2 separate regions of the Homo sapiens genome follow, and region 2 is linked to region 1. The links are contacts of gene promoters, found by promoter capture Hi-C in blood cells and fetal thymus (Javierre and others, 2016). All regions are on one chromosome and are shown on one strand. The core of a region is centred on a gene start or on the middle of the fragment in contact, and the rest is flanking DNA. Distances in the headings are between cores, read along the strand shown. Region 1 holds the start of CPXM1 (carboxypeptidase X, M14 family member 1). Region 2 holds the start of PCED1A (PC-esterase domain containing 1A).

What was found. Contacts are between HindIII fragments. The CHiCAGO score rates a contact against its expected background, and 5 or more counts as called.
Region 2: the fragment with the promoter of PCED1A here is called in contact with the fragment with the promoter of CPXM1 in region 1 in 1 of 17 cell types (megakaryocytes); the score reaches 5.1 in megakaryocytes.

What each region holds. Positions count from the first base shown.
Region 1 is chr20:2,798,250-2,804,310 of GRCh38, forward strand. It overlaps CPXM1 (carboxypeptidase X, M14 family member 1), which reads right to left and starts at 2,378. Exons shown (of 14, transcript NM_019609.5): 1 at 2,152-2,378; 2 at 477-644; 3 at 179-288; 4 at 1-42. The coding sequence starts at 2,323. RefSeq lists enhancers at 1-947, 948-1,935, 1,936-2,921. The HindIII fragment of the contact is 3,566 bases long and covers 1-2,741 here.
Region 2 is chr20:2,837,156-2,843,216 of GRCh38, forward strand. PCED1A (PC-esterase domain containing 1A) reads right to left here and starts at 3,500. Exons shown (of 8, transcript NM_022760.6): 1 at 3,056-3,500; 2 at 2,634-2,778; 3 at 2,037-2,116; 4 at 1,689-1,927; 5 at 1,441-1,591; 6 at 1,077-1,323. The coding sequence starts at 2,757. It overlaps VPS16 (VPS16 core subunit of CORVET and HOPS complexes), which reads left to right and starts at 3,590. Exons shown (of 24, transcript NM_022575.4): 1 at 3,590-3,672. The coding sequence starts at 3,620. RefSeq lists enhancers at 1,026-1,325, 2,802-3,333, 3,867-4,398. The HindIII fragment of the contact is 13,128 bases long and covers 2,025-6,061 here.

The sequences.
Region 1 (6,061 bases), core at 1,128-3,627:
ACACCAGGCTCCATCATATAGATCGCCGTCCTCCAGGCCTGACTGCAGACACAGGACATGGTGGTCAGGCCCAGTTGGACAGAGTGGGGCAGGCCAGGACAGAGAGGAGGCAGGAGAGAAGCTCCCAGGGGCTGCCTTCCCTACCCTGAGACCATGGCTCCGAGCCAGGATTACTGACCTGAATGTTGAGCCGTCCTCGGTGTGGTCCAAGACCAAAGGACTGGCTGCTGGATGCCTCAAGCCGGCTATCTGAAACTCGCAGGGACTCCAGACCCAAAGGAGGACAGCCTGGGGCGGGGATAGAACAGTGAGACAGGACCAGAGGGAGGGTAGCCAGGGCAGGTGGGAAGCTGAGCCTAAGGTTGCTCCTGCGCTAGGCAAGCAAGGGGCGTGCCGGTGCCCATGAGGCCAAGAGCTGTGCTGGTAAAGTGCCCCAGGGGCTGCAAGTCTGGGCTGGGCCCCTGGAGAGGAAGTACCTGTTTCTTGTTTCTCAGCGGGGTCGAGGGTCCCTGCTGGAGTGGGGGTCACAAGGGGCCCGGCAGTCACCAGTGGGGTGGGGCGAGTTAGAGTTAGCTTCTTCCGCTTCTTCATAATGACCTTTTTCTTCTTGATGACTCGAATCCGGACATGCTGTTCTGAGGTCCCTTGGGGTCCGAGAGGCACAGCATGGGGGAAAGGAAGAATGGTGAAACCCCGGATGGAAAGGTCTGCCAGCCCAAGAAGACATGTGAGCCCACAGCAGGCCACACCACCAGGATCTAACAGCCTTCACAGGACATCAAAGGCCTGCAATCTGACCCCAACCTGCCTCTCCAGTCACTTCCTTGGCTCCTCCTTCTCCTCCCTGATGTAACTACATGCTTGGCCAGCCTCCCCTGTGAACCTCTAATCCAATGGAGAGCTGCACCCAGCCTCTAGAAACTGTTCGGTTGCTCCAAAGAGCTGAGTCTGGCACTTTACCTCCGGGCCTCTGCACTAGCTATCCCCTCCCCTGTAATGCTACCCCTCGCCTCTGATTTTTTCACCTAATTCCCATTCTTCCTTTGCATCTCAGCCCAGATGCCTTTCCAAGGAGGCTTTCTTAGCTCCAGACTCAGCATCATGCCCCAAAACCCCTGTGCCGCTTCCATTGTTGTGTCTGCTCTCTGGGCTCAGATGGCCTGTCCTGGAATCCATGTCTGCCTGGGTGTCGAGGCTTTCAGGGCTGGGCCTGCCCGCCGGCCCTTCAGCACAAGGCTCTGCCCAGGCAGGTGCTGGGGGTACCCATCGAAGCTCCACAGCTGCCTCCAGAACAGGCTGCCCATTTCCGCATCTGGTGCCCCTGTGCCTTTGCCCGCCGCTTCCTTCTTGGCAGCCCTCTCTCTCTCTCTCTCTCCAGACTCCCCTGACTCGGGGACATCACCCTTCAAGACCCTCCTCCACTTGCCTCCTCTAGAAGCCCCTGAGTGCCCTCCGCTTGCGCTCCTCCTCTCCTATTCCACATCTGGAAAGCTGGGAGGTCGGGCTGCCTTCCTCTCCCGCTCTGCCCCATCCTCCCGGCAGCCTCAGCGAGGGGCTCTCCCTTCTTTCCTTTTGTTCTTTCTCTCCAGCCCTCGCCTTCAAACTCTCTCCTACGCAGTCTTGCTCTGCACCTTGAGAGCTTCTGCCCCTCTGTCTCCCCTCCTGCCAGTTCTGGCCTGTTTTGTCTTTGGTGAAAAGGGAAGGTTTGGGGCTTGGAAGAGGCAGCATCCCACTGGCGCCTGTCCTGGGACTGCTGACTAGGTCTGGCAGGGAACTGGGGCTGCCGAGTCAGCAGCCATTGCTCCCAGCAGGGAGTTGAGGGAGTGTGAGTGTGTATATGTGTGTGTGCACTGTGAGTGTGAGTGTGCGCGCGCGTGCACTGTGTGTGCGCGCACGCGCGTGTGAGTGTGCGTGTGTGTGCATGCGTGTGAATGCGCGCGCGTGTGAGTGCAAGTGTGCGCGTGTGTGAATGTGTGTGAGTGCGCGCGCGTGTGTGCGCGTGAGTGCGAGTGTGCGTGCGGGGTGAGTGTGCATGACTGTGAGTGTGCGTGGGTGTGCGTGTGCCCGCGTGTTAGGGAGGGATCGCCCCACGGGGCAGGAGAGCCGGGCAGTCGGCTTGCGGGGGAGCGGACCGTCGGTCGGGGAACTCACCGTTAGCTGTCTCCGCCGGCGGCTGTGCCGGGCTGCTATGCAGGGCCGGGGTCGAGCCTGGGACCTTGGTGGTCCCGGGCTGCGCGAGGCCCAGCACCGAGTTCCTGGGCGCCCCCAGAGCCGGGCCGACGGCCGGCGCGAAGGCGGCCAGGGCGAGCAGGAGCCCCCACATGGCGGGGATTGAGTGCCAGGGGCGCGCGGGCTACGGCGGGTGGCGGGTCGGTCTCTTCCTGCCGAGTGCGCCGAGCCCCCCGCCCCTTCCTGCCCCCCGCCCCTCCGCAGCCTCCTGCCCGCCCACAGCCCGCTGCCCGCCTCGGACCTCGGAGAGGAGGAGAGGGCCGGGAGGAGCGAGCGGGGCTGACCTCCAAGGGGCCGCCCCAAGTCTCAGGACCGCCGACTCTGCCCTTCCTCTCCGCCGTCTGGGGCCAACCCGCCTCGTTGGCGCGCTGCGCCTTTATAGTCTGCAAAGCCACACTGAAGAGACCAGAGATCACCTGGTGGCCATCAAGTCGACCAACAGGAGGCAAAGCCCCTTATCTGAGCAATTCAGAATGACACTTCCCTATTGTCTAAAGCCACATCTGGTACCAAGCTTCCGTCCCAAGAATTTATAAGTAACTAGAATTTCTGTACGTTTCCGGAATGAGTGCACGTTAAGACCCATTGTGCAAACTTTGCTGACATCAAGGCACCAAAATATCGACAAATGTAACCATTTACCATGACCTAAGTGACTAATGTGGTCCAAATTACCCTGCAGTTCCCCGCAGGGAGCTCAGTCCTCTCTTGCTGAAGCGCCTACTGCGCTCTGCTGCCTCGTCCTTTCCGTCTAATAAAACTTTCCTTTTCAGACCTACACGGTTGTTGATAAGTTCTTTTACCACCCGGGAGCCAACCACTTCCCGGTTCCGGAGCTCTGACACCTCGCCTGGCATCTTGGTGGCCCATACGGGGACTTCACTGGGATTTCCCTCTTCCTTTTTCTCTCTGCTTCCTTCCACGGTCTGGTTCTTTACTCTTTGGGGAACTGCCGGTCCCGGTGGAGGCAGCTCTTCTGTGGGATCCTGAAGCCCTAGAGAAGGGATACCTGGCTGTCCTTGCCCTTAGGGGTGAGGGACTGGCCAGGGCTCTTTTCTGTTTTCGGACTGCCAGTGAACCAGCTTGAGTTCTCGTTGGCAACTGACAGTTTCTGGCCAAGCGCCATCCCCCGGTATTACCCCAAGGCCAAGACAAAAGAGCTATTGCCTGTCAGAGTGGCAGGGCACTTTCATTTTAACACTCCATAAGCCTTGTCCTGGAAGCGGTGGATCTCAATTCTACACAGGGATGCCTCAGGGATCTTGTAGTTCCTTGTCTAAACCCAACTTCGGTTCAATTAATTCAGTTCCATCCAACTCGCCCTTGGATTGCCTCCTTAAAAATGGTCCCATTGGTCTCATTTTGACCCACAAACTCTTAAAAATAAGCATATAAGGCTGAGCACAATGGCTTATGCCTGTAACCCCAGCACTTTGGGAGGCCAAGGCAGGCAGATCACCTGAGGTCCGGAGTTAAAGACCGGGAGTCTACTAAAAATGCAAAACTTGGCCGGGCACAGTGACTCACACCTGTAATCCTAGCACTTTGGGAGGCCGAGGCGAGTGGATCACCTGAGGTCAGGAGTTCGAGATCAGCCTGGCCAACATGGCGAAACCCTGTCTCTACTAAAAATACAAAAAAAAAAAAAAAATCAGCCAGGGGGCTAATTATATGTGGCGGGCACATATAATCCCAGCTACTAGGGAGGCTGAGGCAGGAGAATCACTTGTACCCCGGGGGCGGAGGTTGCAGTGGGCCAAGATGGCGCCACAGCACTCCAGCCTGGGCGACACAGCAAGACTCTGTCTCAAAAAATACAAATAAAAAATAAATAAGAGTTTAAAAAGCATATCCTTTTTTCTAATATTGCTTGGGTTCAATACAAGCTCCCTAATCAATCAATTTGGCCAATTAATGAAACTTGGGATTGCAATGCTACTTTACAACTTAACTGATTTTTTGCCGGAACCTTGGAAAGGATTCAGAAGTCCCATATGTTCAGGTCTTTTTTGCTTTATCCCCAAATCCAAACCCAAAATTACATACAAATTGTCATGTATGCTTCCAAGGAACGTCCTCCCTTCCCGGTTCTGATGTCTTAGATGATCCTTCCTTTTGCCTATTACATCCTCCTCAACCTGCTCACTCTTCACCTACACCCTCTCCATCTGCTCCATTCCCTAGTCAATCTCCCACCCACATACCCAAATACTTTCTCCCCTTCACATACTCTCAGGGGAGTCACATATGCTACTAGTACAGAGTCCTCAGAAAAATCCCCAAAATATTTTGCCTCTCCCTAAGGTGGCTAATGAAGATTTGGGAACAAGCCAAGTTCATGTCCCTTTTCTGATCATGTCTGATCTTTTGCAAATTCAATCCAAGTTGGGTTCATTTAGTCAGGATCCCTCTAAGTTCATTCAAGAATTTCAGACTTTAACTGTTGCCTTTGATTTAACCTGGCAAGATGTATTTGTGGTATTAACTACCTGCTGTTCCCACACACAAAAAATCACACGTGTGATCTTCAGCATGGGCAGATGAAGCTCATGCTCCCAGTCCTAATAACAGAGCTGGGCAGAAGCTGTCCCCAACATAGAACCTATTGGCAATACCAGGCCACCAATTCTGGCCCAAACAGAGGTAAGGGCAGACAGGATCATATGGTAACTTCTCTGTTGGAGGGAATGAAAAATATATAATAAAACCTGTTAATTTTTCTAAATTATAAGAAATAATAGCTGGGCGCGGTGGCTCACACCTGTAATCCCAGCACTTTGGGAGGCTGAGGCGAGCGGGTCACCTGAGGTTTGAGACCAGCCTAGCCAACACGGAGAAACCCCATCTCTACTAAAAATACAAAATGAGCTGGGCATGGTGGTGCATGCCTGTAATCCCAGTTACTCCAGAGGCTGAGGCAGGAGAATCGTTTGAACCTTGGAGGCGGAAGTTGTGGTGAGCTGAGATTGCGCCACTGCACTCCAGCCTGGGCAACAAGAGCGAAATTCCATCTCAAATAAAATAAAATAAAAAGAAATAATAATTTTGTATGTATGAAACTATCTGAAAGCCCTGCCCTTTTCCAAGCTAGACTGGTGGAGGCCATGCATAAATACACAAATTGAGACCCCAGGGGCCAGGTGTGGTTGCTCACACCTGTAATCCTAGTACTTTGGGAGACCAAGGCGAGGCGGGCGGATCACCTGAGGTCAGGAGTTGGAGACCAGCCTGGCCAACATGGTGAGAACCTGTCTCTACTAAAAACACAAAAATCTGTGGGCATGGAGGTGCATGCCGGTAATTCCTGCCTTTTAATGCTTATATCTTCCAGCTTACAATGATTCCACCTACAGATGACTATGCAATCCCAATACCAGCCTGCAACAGCAACTTCTATTTTCATGGGGCCTCTTGATGGAATCTGGTCTTCCCTCCATGAACAAGTTTATCATGACCCTTCATTCCCTTCATGACAGAAAGCAAGAAAGGAATCCTTTCAATGCCCCTTTTCAGCAGGAAGTAGCCAGATAGACTGGACACCCCTCTTCACTGTGCCATTTTCCCTTTCTTGGGATCCTAACAGACAAGTAGACATGAGCATGGAGAAATACAAAGGGTCAAAGATTTGCCCAAAATATTTATCAGGGGGAAAATGAGGAGAGCAAGGATCACCTGGTGGCCATCAAGCAGACCATCAGGAGGCAAAGCACCTTATCTGAAGAACTCAGAATGGTACTTTCCTATTATCTAAAGCCACATCTGGTACCAGGCTTCTTTCCCTAGAATTTCTATACATCTCCGGAATGCACGCATGTTGGAACCCATTGTGCAA
Region 2 (6,061 bases), core at 2,250-4,749, 40 kb after region 1:
CCTTCAGGGCATCCCATCATTTGCTGGGGATCAATTATTACATCTAAACAAGAAAATGGGGATGTTTAACCAAAATCTGTATTCACCTCCCTGATGCTCCAACTCCTGGCTACCAAGTGTTACAGGTCTGTCTCTATGATATTCCTGGACTCTCTGTGCCCCCACATCCTCTTGTGCTGCCATAATCGGCCTTCTAACATGACTCGTGCCTCCCATTCAACAAATACAATTCTGTTGATACTGTGTACAGGGAAATTGTGCTAGACACTGGGGCTGAAAGGGGTGAGTCGTCAACAAGTGCAGCAGGAAACTTGCCCTTTAAGGACACGATGCAGGGGAGAAGCAGCCATGGAGACAATCAGCCATGGTGCCCTCTTTGTGTGCATGCAGGGACTAGGGTGTTGACATGGAAACAGAGGTTCTGCAGCAGAGTGTTACAGTTGAGATGTGATGGGGAGCAGTGCCTCAAAACAAGGGGGAGTGGGGCCCTCAGAAGCCTCCACCAAAGGCCCAGAGATGGGGCCCGAGGAGAGCTACACCAAGCTGCACCAGTCACAGTGGGACTCTGAGGCTGAACTAAGAAGCCTATGGAACACTGTCCATTGAGCCCAAGTCCATAAGGCTGGCCTTCCCGATGCAACATCCCTGTTCCACACCCTGCCAGTTGACTGTACCCCCACCCCCCAGCTGTGGGCTTCTTTGCTTCTGCCACACTGCCTGGATGGCCCTTCCTCCCTGTCTTTCCACTCCTCACACCCATGCCCCATTTCTTTCCTGTTAATCTGTTGGGTAGGACCCTTGCAACATGCTGCCTTATGTGGTCAATACTTGTACAAGCTCCTTCAAGCACACAGAAATGACTACACAGCCAGACTGTAGAAAACTGGAACTTGGACAAGAATATTGCTCCGATGATCTAACCCTCCTCAGGGGTTGAGGAAGGTGCATGCAGAAGCCACAGGAGTCCTTCAAGGGACCTCTACTTCCCTTGAGTGGCTGTGTCCCATTCTGTTTCTGAGCCCTGTCCTCTGAGGGCCCCAGTGCATCACTACCCCCCCACTTATGGTAGGGCTCACCAGGGGGATAGCCACGCTTGGGCAGCTCCACGCCCCAGGCGTCAGCCACATGGGTCAGAAGCAGGTGTGAGAGGTGGCGGTGTGCATGCTGGTCCCAGTGGACACCATCCCGATGACGGTGCTGTACTGCATGCCGGAAGTGAAAGTGGAGGTCTAGGACATCAAAGCAGTGGTCCCCGGCCAGCGTAGCACTGTAGAAGTTCCCTTCAACCACATCCCGCCGCAGGGAGCCTGCCAGGGGCTGGAGCTAAGTGAGAAAGTGCAGCCTCTAAGAGCCACAGAACGCAGCAGGGTCTGAAAGCAGGGTGTCCTATCTACCAGTCTGCTATCCCATCTCTTGTCCTGATGGGCCTCAGTCACTTGCCTCTGGCAGGAGGAAACCCCCAGTGATACGTTCCCCGAGGGGCATCGCCATGTTCCACACCAGCAGGCAGGAGTCTGGCAATACTTGGTCCATGCGCACAAACACCCGCTCCAGGTTCTCCCGGTAGCTCTCCATTGAGCAGCGACCATATCTGTTGGATAACACACAGGGTGGGCAAGAGCACAAGGGTGGACTGCCTCAGCCGTACTTCCAGCCCCAACCAGTATTCCCCTTTCCCTCGCCCCAACCTGGAGAGATCCCAGAGGCAGGAGTTGATGATCACCAGGTCCGGGGCAGGTCCATATGTCAGCTCTTCCAGAACATCCTCAAGGTACTCGGAGTAAACACGAGTGAGGAAGTAGAAGCGCACAAGGTGGTGGCCAGAGCCCGAGCAGAACTGGCGGACCTCACGATACTGTGTCCCGTTGTGCAGCTCGCCCAGCTGGCCCCCAGCCACCAGCTGGTCCTGTTCAAAGCTCAGCTCCCCCTACCCACCCCCCCCACCCTACTGGTCAGACCCATGCCAGGGAGGAGAACCCTGCCAGGCCAGGGTCTGTGCCCACCCACCACTGACATGGCCACCAAGCTTCCCTCACCTTGGCTTTCAGCTGGGCAGCTGTGAGCAGTGAGTCTTTCTGGAGCAAGAGCACCAGGTCCTTGTACACAGCCCTCTGAACTGGGAGGAGACAGAGATCCCAAGGCTGAGGCAGACCTCAGCCTGCCCCAGCTCCTTCCAAGTCCAGGACCCCATTTTCCCAGGGCTGAGGTGCCCGACACCAGCTCTGTGGTTGACTTAGACGCAGGAGAAAAGATGAGGTTAAAAAGTCCTGGCATTGCCTCTGTTCTGTGTGCCTCCTGGCCAGCAGTATACAGTGACCCAAGATCACCTGGCAGAAATTAAGTCGGCCAAGTCACCCAGGAGACACACTACACAATGCAACGCTTTCGTGATGGAAATTATGGGGAGCTGTCAGGGCGAGAAATGCTGAGCAAGGATGGGCTAAAAAGTGCACAGGTTATTACACCTGTCAGGACTCCTGTGGAAGATGTGTGGGACATAAAAAGAGAAAACCTACTGGACGGAACAGACCAGAAGACAGACAAGAGATGTGAGATGGAAACAAATGGTCCAGACACACTGAACGGGCTGCAAGGTGTGGGACTGGAAGCGTCACCCTAGAAGAGGCACTCACTGGAGTCCCCCAAGATGACCACGAACTTGTTGTGTAGCAGCTGCTGGACTTCCGAGGCCTGGAAGTGGACCATGTCGCTTCGCAGCGGGCGGCGCGGCTCCTCGCTCGACAGACAGAAGACCATGCCGCCACCAGCAACGACAGGCTGCAGGGAGAGGCCACTAAGCAGCGCGATGGTGGGGACTCTGGGCAGGTCAGCCTCAGGGCTAGCCCCTCCGGGGCTGCTCAATGCTAAAGGGAGGAGGTGACGGCAGCAGAGCCATGGTGGCGCCAGCCTTGGTCACACTTGGTACCAGAGGCAGGGGGTCGTCCAGCCAGCAGGCCTCCAGGGCACTGGGGAGCTTCCCGCGCGGCGCCGCCCTGCGCCTCGCCACGTGCCCGCCGCCGTCCCGCGCATGCGCGCACCCGCTCGCGCCAATTACCAAGTCCCGGGGCTCCGCGGTGTTCACCCGCGACCCGGGTATGCCTGCGCACCGCGCGCCTGGCCCGCAGCGGGCTCCTAGCCAAGCCTCATGTTCCCGCGCCCCAGTCGGCCAGTCGGTTCTGCAAAGCTCCCGCCCCGCAGAGACCGTGGGTCCAGGTTAGCCGTCGGTGCACAGCCCAGCGCCCAGCGCTCTCCATGCGAGCGTCGCTGTGGCCCCGACGGCGCCTCAGGCCTCGGCGCCTCGGGCTGCGACGCTCACAGCTTCCACTTCCGTTCACCCATGTCCCGCCCTGAGCGACCCCCAGTGCCCGAAGGGAAAGCAAGGCGATGGAGGTGGCCGCCACAGGGCGCAGGAGCCAGGGCTGGGCCCACTTGGCGGGCGCGAAGCCCAGGTACGGGCTGGGGTCTCGGGGCGGCAGCCAAGTGAGGCTGCCCACAGTGGTGATGGCCGCGGCGGCGGCCTCGCCACGTGACCCGGACGGGCGGAAGCGGAAGTGCCGGCCTGGAGCCCGCTCTAGGTGGGTGTCCCCTCGGTGCTTCCCAGCTGCCGTCTGCACCAGCCATGGACTGCTACACGGCGAACTGGAACCCACTCGGGGACTCTGCCTTTTACCGGTGAGCTGCCCCGCCCTCCCGCCCACGGCCTGGCTTACCCTGCTCGCCCGCCGGCTGGAGTCTCCCGGCGGCGTTCGCCCCTGTCACTACTGGCGCTGGGGTCCGCCCCGCGCCGGCTCTCCCCGAGCGTCTGCCACTTAGCGCACAGCCGCCTTTGGGCAGGGAGCCGGGCCTTCCCCTGCTCCAGAAAAGGAAACTGAGGCAAGCACAGTGGTCACCCCGAAGCCCAGGTCTGTTAGCCTCCGGAAAGATGCTCAGATCTCGCTGAGGGAGGCAGCTCGCGGGTGACAGCGAGTGCCCAGTCTCCTGCCGGAAAGTGCTGCTGAAGTCAGACCACAGGGGCGCTCCGAGGGGGGCGGGATCGCACGGCGGGCGGGGTAACAGTGCTGACCAAGGCTGGGAAAAGGGGGCGAGTCGTCCGTGAATCCCGGAACAGCGGAAGTGGGAACCCCTGGGTTAGGGCAGCCCGCCCATGGGAGTTGTAGAGTCCTAAACCACGGATTTTTCTAAAGTGTAAACCCGTTACATCGTTACCCAGATTAGGATTTTCCCATAGCTTCCCTAATAGGAAAAACTACGAACTTCTCGTGGAACGTCTATCTGTAAGGCAGCCCGTTTGTCTCTCCAACCTCATCTACCGCTCTCCTACCCAAATCTTGCGTTCCAGCTGCGCAGAATTACAAGGCCCTAACCAGTCTGCAGTTTCTGTGGATACTGCCATTTCTCTCTTTATCTCACTGAAGAATTTTGCGCATCCTTCAGGACTTAGTAGTTCAAGGGTTCTTTCTGGAACTGTGCCTGATTCTCCCCCAATAGAATCCTGTGGGCCTCACTGGGCCCAGTGCTAGGGTCTTTTAGGTATGGTCTATTTGTATATTTAGGCGACATTTGTATAGGTTTCTTCTGCTAAACCAGGCTCCTTCAGGGCTGAAAGCATTTTTTTTTTTTTTGACAGAGTCTTCCTCTGTTGCCCAGGCTGGAGTGCAGGGGCACTCGGCTCACTGCAACCTCCGCCTCCCGGGTTCAAGGGATTCTCCTGCCTCAGCCTCCCGAGTGGCTGAGACTGCAGGCCCCTGTCACCACGCCCGGCTAATTTTTGTATTTTTTGCTAGAGGTGAGGTTTCACCATGGTGGCCAGGCTGGTCTTGAACTTCTGACCTTAAGCAATCTATCCACCTTGGCCTCCCAAAGTACTGGGATTACAGGCGTGAACCACTGAGCCCGGCCAAAAGCATGTTTCTTGCTTCTCTTTATCACCAGTGCATATTTAGAACAGTGCTTGCTATGTAATAATTGCCCATTAAAGTTTTTTAAAAATATTTTACTGGGCCGAGCTTTGTGGCATGTTCCTATAGTCCCAGGTACTGGAGAGGCTGAGTTAGGAGGATCACTGGAGCCCAGAAGTTTGAGGGTGTAGGGACCGATGTTAGAACCTGTGAATAACCACTGCACTCCAGCCTGGGCAACATAGCATACTCCCTCTGAAAAATTAAAAATATTATTTTAGGCCAGGCGCAGTGGCTCATGCCTGTAATCCCAGCACTTTGGGAGGCCAAGGTGGGTGAATCACCTGAGGCCAGGAGTTTGAGACCAGCCTAACCAACATGGTCAAACCCTGTCTCTACAAAAATTAGCCAGGCATAATGGCAGGTGCTTGTAATCCCAGCTACTTGGGAGGCTGAGGCAGGAGAATCGCTTGAACCTGGGAGGCGGAGGTTGCAGTGAGCCAAGATAGCGTCATTGCATTCTAGTCCAGGCAACAGAGTGAGACTCCGTCTATATATAGATATATCTATCTATATCTATCTATAGATAGATAGATATAGATAGATATATAGATGTATCTATATATATATAGATACATCTAGATGTATCTATATATAGATAGACATATGGATGTATCTATCTATAGATACATATAGATGTATCTATCTATAGATAGACATATAGATGTATCTATCTATAGATAGACATATAGATGTATCTATCTATAGATAGACATATAGATGTATCTATCGATAGATAGATGTATCTATCGATAGATAGATAGATGTATCTATCGATAGATAGATAGATATATGTTATGGATTGCAAGTAAAGATCACAAAGACATTGCATGGGGGTCTTACTTAAATAGAAGACATTTGTTTGTGCTAATGAAACTGTATACCATTCTCACTGACATATTAAAACTTTTAAATGTAATTTTTGGTACCTAATGTGATATACTTCCTAGATGGACAAGTGCCCTGTGGCAGTTTTTAGAGACCTGTTGCATTTGTTGTTTATTTATAATTCTCTCTTAGAAATATGCCTGTGCAATTGGCCGAGCGTGGTGGCTCACGCCTGTAATCCCAGCACTTTGGGAGGCTGAGGCAGGCAGATCACG